2 separate regions of the Homo sapiens genome follow, and region 1 is linked to region 2. Evidence: promoter capture Hi-C in 16 types of primary human blood cells and fetal thymus (Javierre and others, 2016). All regions are on one chromosome and are shown on one strand. Each heading gives the region's core, a stretch centred on a gene start or on the middle of the fragment in contact. The rest is flanking DNA. Distances are from core to core; before and after follow the strand shown. Region 1 overlaps FAM162A (family with sequence similarity 162 member A). Region 2 holds the start of PARP15 (poly(ADP-ribose) polymerase family member 15).

What was found. Contacts are between HindIII fragments. The CHiCAGO score rates a contact against its expected background, and 5 or more counts as called.
Region 1: a contact is called between a fragment that was not itself captured here and the fragment with the promoter of PARP15 in region 2, in 1 of 17 cell types (activated CD4 T cells). The highest score is 5.2, in activated CD4 T cells.

Annotation. Positions count from the first base shown.
Region 1 is chr3:122,390,196-122,394,520 of GRCh38, forward strand. All of the region lies in intron 1 of FAM162A (family with sequence similarity 162 member A), which reads left to right. Among named protein-coding and RNA genes, the nearest start is that of FAM162A, 8.2 kb to the left of the region's middle. The HindIII fragment of the contact is 3,218 bases long and covers 1-2,921 here.
Region 2 is chr3:122,574,571-122,579,038 of GRCh38, forward strand. It overlaps PARP15 (poly(ADP-ribose) polymerase family member 15), which reads left to right and starts at 3,080. Exons shown (of 12, transcript NM_001113523.3): 1 at 3,080-3,283. The coding sequence starts at 3,098. DTX3L (deltex E3 ubiquitin ligase 3L) reads left to right here. Exons shown (of 5, transcript NM_138287.3): 5 at 1-633. RefSeq lists enhancers at 1,463-1,512, 3,047-3,326 and a silencer at 3,387-3,436. The HindIII fragment of the contact is 6,929 bases long and covers 329-4,468 here.

The DNA of each region.
Region 1 (4,325 bases), core at 63-2,562, 190 kb before region 2:
GAAAAAGGCAGTGGAAAATAAGGATAAGTTTGGTACGACATCCCTCAGCAGAGGGATTACTACTTAAGAATAAAGGAAGACTGGTATTTCTTCAAGCCTGCAGGGAAGGATGAGAAAACGGATATAGGGAGTCTGTTTCTGTCACAAAGCCCAGGTCAACAGCTAAGGCCTAGAGAGTTTCAGATAGACACTCTGGGGAGTGGGTTGTAATATTGATTCTCTGATTCCCAGAGAGTTGTCATATCTCCAGTCACATCACCTATGGTTTTCTCCAAGAGGACCTTGAAAGATTCTGAGAAAGAAAAAGCATCCCTACCTTTCCTCACTGTCTATCATGGGGTTGGAAAGGATATTTATGGAAAGGAGGGGACTACCAGGAGAGAAGCTGGTACTTCAACCAGCCTCACCCTGGCTGACCACTATAGCCTCCAGCTAGCAATGATATTTCTAAGGCACTGGTTTTCAGATTATGGGTCCCCCATAGCAGAAGTTTCACCATTACCTGGGCAATTGTTAGAAGTGCACATTCTCAGGTTCTGTCCATACTGACTGTATCAGTTGGGTCCAGTAATCTGTTTCACAGGGTCCCCCAGGTGATTTCGATAGATAAAAAAGTTAAGAACCTTTACTCTTAAGATTAGCCGTTTGCCACCCAGAGCCTTAGAGACAGCTGTGAGGCTTCATCTTAACTTCCTGCTAGGGCCCTGGAGACACAGAATTGGTCAGCCAGGGACAAGCTGTTAAGTCCAGCTAGAGGGTTAAAGGGCTGTTTTTCTTTTGGTTTGTATGTTTTTAATCGTGATCCACCAGAGGATGGAAAATTTCTGGCTTGGACGTCTGGTCAATATATTCTGTCTCTTTGAGAGAAAACGAAGGTCTTAGTAATGATATTAAAGTTTGTTTATGCTTTCATGTTGTTATAATTGCAAAATAAAAACCAAGACCACATCAAATACTTCAGACATTTTTTAGCGATAACTTTTTAAAATTTAAAATTTTATTTTATTTTATTTTTGAGAGAAGGTCTGGCATTATCGCCCAGGCTGAAGTGCAGTGGCATGATCTCAGCTCTCTGCAACCTCTGCCTCCAGGGCTCAAGCCACCCTTCTGCCTCAGCCTCCTGAGTAGCTGGGACCACAGGCACATGCCACTGCGCCCAGCTAGTTTTTGTATTTTTTGTAGAGGTGGGGTTTCACTATGTAGTGATAACATTTTTAAAAATATTTTTAAAGCAAGACCTCATCTTTAAAAAAATATATTTACATTAGTCTATTATTCTAATATCTATAATAAGATAATATGTGTGTATGTTTTAATCAGCATTTATACTGTAGGGAGGTAAAAGTTATTAGCATACAATATGAAGTTGTAGTAAGAAAAAGTTGGGAGATACAGTCTGATCTAGGTGAACCTCTCATGTCTCCAAGTCCTTACCCTCCATAACTACCTCAGTACCTCTCTCACATCAAATTCTACTTGTCTTCCCATTATTCATTCTGTTCTGGCCATACTGGCCTTCTCTTTATGGGCTCTAGAATCTTTTAGGGTCTTTGCATTTATAATTCTTTCTGTTTGGAATATTCTTCCACCAGATAGCTGCATAGCTAGCCCTTGCTTCCCTTCAAGAGTGACATTCTCACAGAGGACTTCCTAACTACTCTATGTAAAATTTCATACACAGCCCATTCCAAACACATACTTCATGTCCCCATTGTTTATTTTTTTCTCTCTGGCACTTAGTATCTAACATATGTATAACTTTCTCCCCAGTAGAATGCAAGTTCTATTGGCACAGATTTTTATCTTTTTTATATATTGCCTAAAACAATGCCTGGCACATAGGAAGTACTTTGTTGAATGAATTACTCCAACATACATCGATGTCACTGATAGTAGGTATACATGTTAGCATTTTTTGCTTTATTATTTCTCAAACTGAGCTAGCTGAGAGGCAGTTTGTCTTCTGTTCTCCTAAACTGCCTTTGTTCTATAATTAGGAGGAATGGGAAAGGACAGCTGTCTTAGGAAATAATTATTGATTCTTTTTCTGTTTAAAGAGCAGAGTCCTTCTAGCTTGCTGCCGGTTAACCTTGTTCCTTTTGTAAGTGCCTGCCAAAGGAGGAATGGGATAGCATTGTGTGAGATGGGGCCTTGTAGGTCACATTAAACCAGTGGTTCTCTGGGGAGATGAAAAAGTCCTGGAGATGGATAGTAGTAATAGTTGCACAGCAGTGTAAATGTACTTAATGCCACTGAATTGTACACTTAAAATAATTAAAATGGTAAATTTTATGTTATGTATATTTAACCACATCTTAGGGGAGAGAAAAGCCTAGGTTCTCAAAGTATAGTCCAGAACCAGCATAGCAGCATCACCTAGGAACTTGTTAGAAATGCGAATTCCCAGCCTCCATTCCAGAACTGTGGATGCAGAAACTGGAGGTAGACAGCCTCATGATTTGTGTTTTAACAAGGCATTCCTCTGATTCACACCAAACACTAAAACACTAAAATTTGAAGATCACAGGATTTAATAATTGTGTCTTAATCCTGAGTGCTATGAAAATCTATTGAAGAGTTTCATAGACTTTTCCCATGGCCTCATAACTGCATAATTAACTTTGTCAGAAATCCTGACCACATTAGGGGTAAAATTGAAAAGTGTTCTAGAAGTTTTATCAAAGTTAATGTTTTACATAATATTTCAAAAAAAAAATAAACTTAACAGTTAGAGAGCCTGCTGTGTTTCAAGCATCTTACCAGATGCTCCCATATTTGCTTTTCCATTTAACCCTCAAATCAACTTTGGTACAAGAAACACTGCATTATCCACATTTTAAATGAGGAAACAAGCTAAAAGCAGTTAATTTATCTCCTTTCCACTAGGTGGCACTGATGTTGTGTTTGCCAGATCCAGGCAAAGCTTTCTGGCATTTATAGCCCTAGAAAACAAAATAAATGAGGCCTTTTATGAAAAAGACTGTGTGCCAGGTAACCACAAATAGAGATTCCAACTTCTGGTGTGTCAAGAGTAAGGACCTCTGAAAATCCATTTTTACCCAAAAGCAATGATAACACTGCCAGAAGTTGGCAGAAGCAACTTTTCCAGAACTCTGGAAAATTACCAGGCATTTGTGACAATCTGAGGAGCATTTATCCAAAAAAAAAAGCCTGAAATCGTGGTAGGACAGCAAGTTTTGTGGAGTTTTAACTTGCTTTATTCCTGTCTTCTTTCAGCTTCACAATAGTCTTGAAAACCAACAGCCTCACAAATCACAGTTACTTTGAAAACCAGCAGCCTTGCAGGCACTGAAGAAGGCAGAATGGGTTTAAGAGTTTTCCAAAACTTCCAGCTGCAGAGAATTGTTACTATTTGACTTGTCTGACAGTTCGCTGGAAACCCCACTCACAGGGCTTATCTTTTTTCACCTGACTTGGAGTTTATTCACTGCAAACAGTGTTTTCCCTGGTGCATTTGTTGAAAATAATCAGCAGCACTTGTTTGACATAACATGGAGTGGGTAACAGCTGGGTCAAACAAGAAGCTGGGGAATGAGATGTCCATCCTGACATCTGGAAAGCTCTGACATATTTCTAGAATGTAATATGTGTAAGGTTGGACACATTTTCCAGGAAAAACCTGAGAGGTCTCTAAGCTCTCACCTCACATTTAGTCTCTGTCCGAGCACGAATGGAAGGTGTGTTAGGCCAGTCTCGCATTGCTAAAAAGAAATACCTACGACTAGGTAATTTATAAAGAAAAGCAGTTTAATTGGTTCATCGTTCTTCAGGCTGTACAGGAAACATGATACTGGCATTTGTCAAGTTTCTAGGGAGGCCTTAGGAAACTTACAATCATGGTGGAAGGCGAAGGGGGAGCTGGCATGTCACATGTCCAGAGCAAGAGCAAGAGAGATCAGGGAGGTGCCACACACTTTTAAACGACCAGATCTCATAAGAACTCACTATCACGAGGACAGCACCAAGAAGGATGGTGCTAAACTATTCATGAGAAATCCACCCCCATGATCCACTCACTTCCCACCAGGCCACACCTCCAACACTGGGGGTTACATTTCAACATGAGATTTGGGTGGGGGTACAGATCCAAACTATATCAGAAGGCTAAGGCAGTGTTGCAGACTGCCTGCCTGAGGGTAGAAGACATGCCCCAACATGCACACACAGCCCGTAGGCAAACACTTAATAAACTTAAAGGCATTTATTAGTCTCTCCAGTTACTAGCTGACCACTAAGATAACCAGACAGACCTCTGTGGCCAAACACACAAAGGATACAAGGAGAGACTATGAACAACTCTATGG
Region 2 (4,468 bases), core at 1,830-4,329:
GTGTGATTGATACAGTTCATATTCCCATTTTATAACTGAGAAAACTGGTGCACAGAGAGGATAAGCAACTTGCCAAAGGTCACACAGTTAATAAGTGGAAATGCTGGGGTATGAACCAGGTAGTCTGCCCCCATAGCTCTGCCCCCCAGAGCTGTACTGTCTCCCATGAGGGTACTTCTCCATGGAGCAGCCTGAGGCGATCCCTTTATTCTGGGCTTCTCTCAGAAATGGATTCCCACACAGTATTCAAAGCAAATTTCCCCAGAGGAAATCCTATTGGAAGAACTTAAAAACTCAGAATCTTTTTCTTTGTCCAGAGAGTTGAGGAAGCTTAAGCTAAATGATACATGTTTTTAAAAAAAAATCAGATTATAAATTTAGTTTTTGGTGATTCATTAAATTCTTTACTATTATAGTTATTTTCTAGCTGTTCATCTTTTAGCTAAATTTGTTCCAAAGAAGCAAAAGTTTGGTTTCTACTAAGTTCTGGATTCTGGATGGGAGATTGCACTGTGTGTGACATGCAAGTTTCATGGTGTGGGAGATTGCAGAGCATTTGGGTTACTGCTTTTACTCTTTGGAAGCTGTTATCATCTGTATCTGCTTTAAATAAAGTTAAAGATTTGGAACAAATTGTGTTCTTTCCCTTGCTTCTTTTTTTTTCCTTTAGGTTGAGATTCTGGGTGTTTCCTACAACACACACAGCATACAGTTGTATAACATGTGCATGGAGATCTTTGGTTGATTTTGTGTGTAGCTGCTTCCTAAATATGATCACAGTACAACTTAACTACTCTTGACTTCACTGCTGTTACTTTTGGCTGTAAAAATCACATTTCTCAGTATTTTTTCCTTATAACATATAGGTTATAAAGATAAAAGTAGGCTGCAGATATCATCTCTTCTCTCCTGGAGAGAGTATATACAATACCCTATCAAACTATATTTGCCCTCTCCTTGCTTCTTGAGGTTCTGTTTCACCTCTCCAACATTGGTGCTGAAGTACCCAGACAGGTCATTGAGCACTATTAGATCAGGGGCACCCTTCTCTCCAAAGAAAAAATAAAATAAAAGAATAATACATATTTGATGCTTCCCTGAAAATAGCATCAAAGTAATCATTAGGAGAAAAATAAGATCTTTATTGGACTTCCTTACACTTACCGTAATAGTTTAGTGTTTACAAAAATTATCCAGGCATGGTGGTACACATCTGTAATCCCAGCTATTCCGGAGGCTGAGGCATGAGAATTGCTTGAACCCAGGAGGCAGAGGTTGCAGTAGGCTGGGATCAGGCCACTGCACTCCAGCCTGGGCAACAGAGCGAGACTCTGTCTCAAAAAAAAAAAAAAATGTTTAGTACTGTTTTTGGTTTGATTTCCATACAGAAGTTAGGTGCTATTTCCTTTTTTATCGATTGGGTCATTTTTATTGATCAGATCTAAAACATAGAGCTTGATGCAAAGATTAAGATATTAATAATTTTGGAGGTCCAAGCCCAAGGACAAACAAAAAGAGAAGTGAGGCAAAGTAAGATGTAATGTAACGCGGTGCTAGGGGTTATCACCCTGGTTACTGCTTCACAATGAACCTGATGTTGCTGGTCTGGGAATTACATTTAGAGATCCACTGGCCTAGAAAATAGAGTTTAAACTCAGCAGCATGGCCGTTAGCGATTGCTCATGCCACTTTGCATACTTTGTGCTCCTTCCTCACCACCAAGTCCCTAGGGTTCAGTCACACCAGACTACAAGATTTTCCAAAGCACAGTCTATGCTTTCATTCATGTGATCTTTGTTCTGTGTAATCCACCCCCATCGCTGCTCTCTGCATGACAGATGATGAAAAAGGGAACTCTGAAGAGAGAGAGGGAGAGAGAGACACACCTCATTCTCATTCTTCACCTGATTTTCCTCTTAGAAAGTCCCCTACTCATCATGCAAGGTCTTACTGAAATGCCACTACTATAGAAACTTTTCTCCAATCTTGTCTCTAAATTACAACGAACCACTGATTTCTGTTATCCTAATACTTTATATGTATCTCAATGCAAATACGATACCAAAACCTTTTACCCTGCTCTCTGCCTTGGAGGTGGTACTGAGGGCTGACCTCTAAGTACCACATCAGCTCCATTCTCTGATTACTCATTGGGTTCTGCAGTGGGAGGTACCAGCACGAGATTGGAAGGCACACGGAGAGAGTACTTGGGATGCTTATACTCCCCTGGCTGTCTTCCGAAAGCAGTCATGGGTTCTACCTGCTGGCACTTGGTATAGCTCTTACCAAGTTCAGGAGATGCCCCCTCCCTTGCCCCTTCAGCCTAGATGGTAAGGGGAGGAGGCTACTTCACCATCTCTCAATGGTTTCCTTAACCCTTTGCCCACACCTGTGTAAATAATTTCTTTATTAAATTATCTTCAATTATTAATTTTGAGTATACCATCTGTATACTGCCAGGACTTTTCGTGATACACCAGGTAACAGTATTAATCTATGTTTTATTTCTCCACCTCCTACTTCACCCCTCACTCCAAAGAGAGGGGATCTGTGTCTAATTCATCTTTATAATCTTAACACAGTGCCAGGCATATCAAAGGCCTTCAATACGCGTTGATTGAATTAAATAATGCCCTGTTGGGCCAGAGGGGAACCTGACTCCAGCCCTGGCTTAGGGAGCACAGGAGAGAACCCAGTGTATTTTTCTAAATATGGGTGTGTAGGGAGAATTGGGGGGAAAGGAGTGGGATGCCCAACAGAAAAGGAAAGGAATACTGATTCCTGTGTTTTAATGTGCCAGGCATTCTACAGACTTTATCTCATTTAATCTTCATTATAATAACATGAAATAGTTATGGCTGTGCCCACTGTACAGATGCTATTGACTGAGGCTACATAACTAATAAAATTGCAGACCTCAGGATTTTGACCCAGGATTTGTCTGGCAGTAACGTCTGTCCCAAAGGGCGACACAATCCTGAGGCAGCTGTTCGCAAACTCGAGGCCTCAATCTTTGACGGAAGCGGTTTTCAGAGAAAAGAAGTTCGAGGCACAAGCCTGTTGGGTGGGGCGCAACTGCAGTCCCAGCGAGCTGAGGATGGCTGCGCCAGGCCCCCTTCCTGCCGCTGCTCTGAGTCCAGGGGCTCCGACCCCCAGAGAACTTATGCACGGAGTTGCAGGTGTTACTTCCAGAGCCGGACGAGATCGGGAGGCGGGGAGCGTGCTGCCGGCCGGGAACCGTGGGGCGCGGAAGGCCTCCCGGCGCTCTTCCTCCCGGAGTATGGTGAGGAGCGCGGGGGACGGGTGCGGGAAGGGGACAGCAGGGCTGAGCCTGGGGCCCGCAAGACCCAGCAGCCCGAGCGGGCGCAGAGACCCCACGCCACGCACAACCCTCTCTTCTAGGGGGCGCCGACTACACTGACTTCCCTGTTCCGGAAGAGGGGGATGCGTGCTGCTTCTTTTTCCTTAGCATTTCTGGTGGTTTTTTTTTTTTTTCCCTTAAAATTTAAAAGTTCTTTATAAAGTTTGAAAGGATATGAGTCCTTTATTCGTGATATGTGTTATGAATATGTCCTCCCAATTTATTTTTTGTTTTTTGAGTTTGCTTATGGGGGGCTTTTGTTTCTCTTTGCCATGCAAATATTTTAAATTTTGTGTGGCAAGACTTACCAGTCTTTTATTTTATGACGTCTAGACTTTTAGTCATATTTTAATATATGACTTTTAGTCATACTCTTCCCTACACCCAAGTTATAGAAGAGTTCACTCATGCTTGCTTCTAGTACTTGAACTGATGTATTTTTTACATTTAGATCTATAATACATTTGGAGTGTGTTATTGTGTGTGGTTTGAGGAGTGAATCTAATTATTTTTTTTCAAATGGGTATCAAGTGTCCCAACACCATTTATTATAAAGGTCGTCACTGTCCCAGTAACTTGAGATACCAGCTTTATCATGTACTAGACTTTCATATGTGGTTCGGGTATTTCTGGACCTTCTATTTTCATCCATTGACCCGTTTATTCATCTGCTTTAGAGAGGCTTTGCTGTATGTTTTAATGTCAGGGCTAGTCTTCCTAGAGAGTGCTTCCTTGTCACTATTTTCCTAGCTATTCTTGTTGTTTATTTTTCCTTATGAACTTTTCTGATGTATGATCAGTTTAAAAAAAAAAAAGAAAAGCTCTTTGGAATTTTTATTGGGATTGCATTAAATTAATAAATTACAGAGAGCTGATATCTTTAGGTGGTGTTGACATGGTCTAACCTACTGTGCTGTGAAAGATTGAAAATTTGAGTATGTAATGTATATGATATTAAATTGTGAATTGGTGGGACATATGTAACAGCTTTTCAACAATTGTAGATACTGGTACTTCATATCCTCTTAAGGAAAATTTGCCTCCAAATTTTAAGCTGGAAAGTCACTAGAATAACTTTTAAAAACAATTACAATACATGACTTTTTA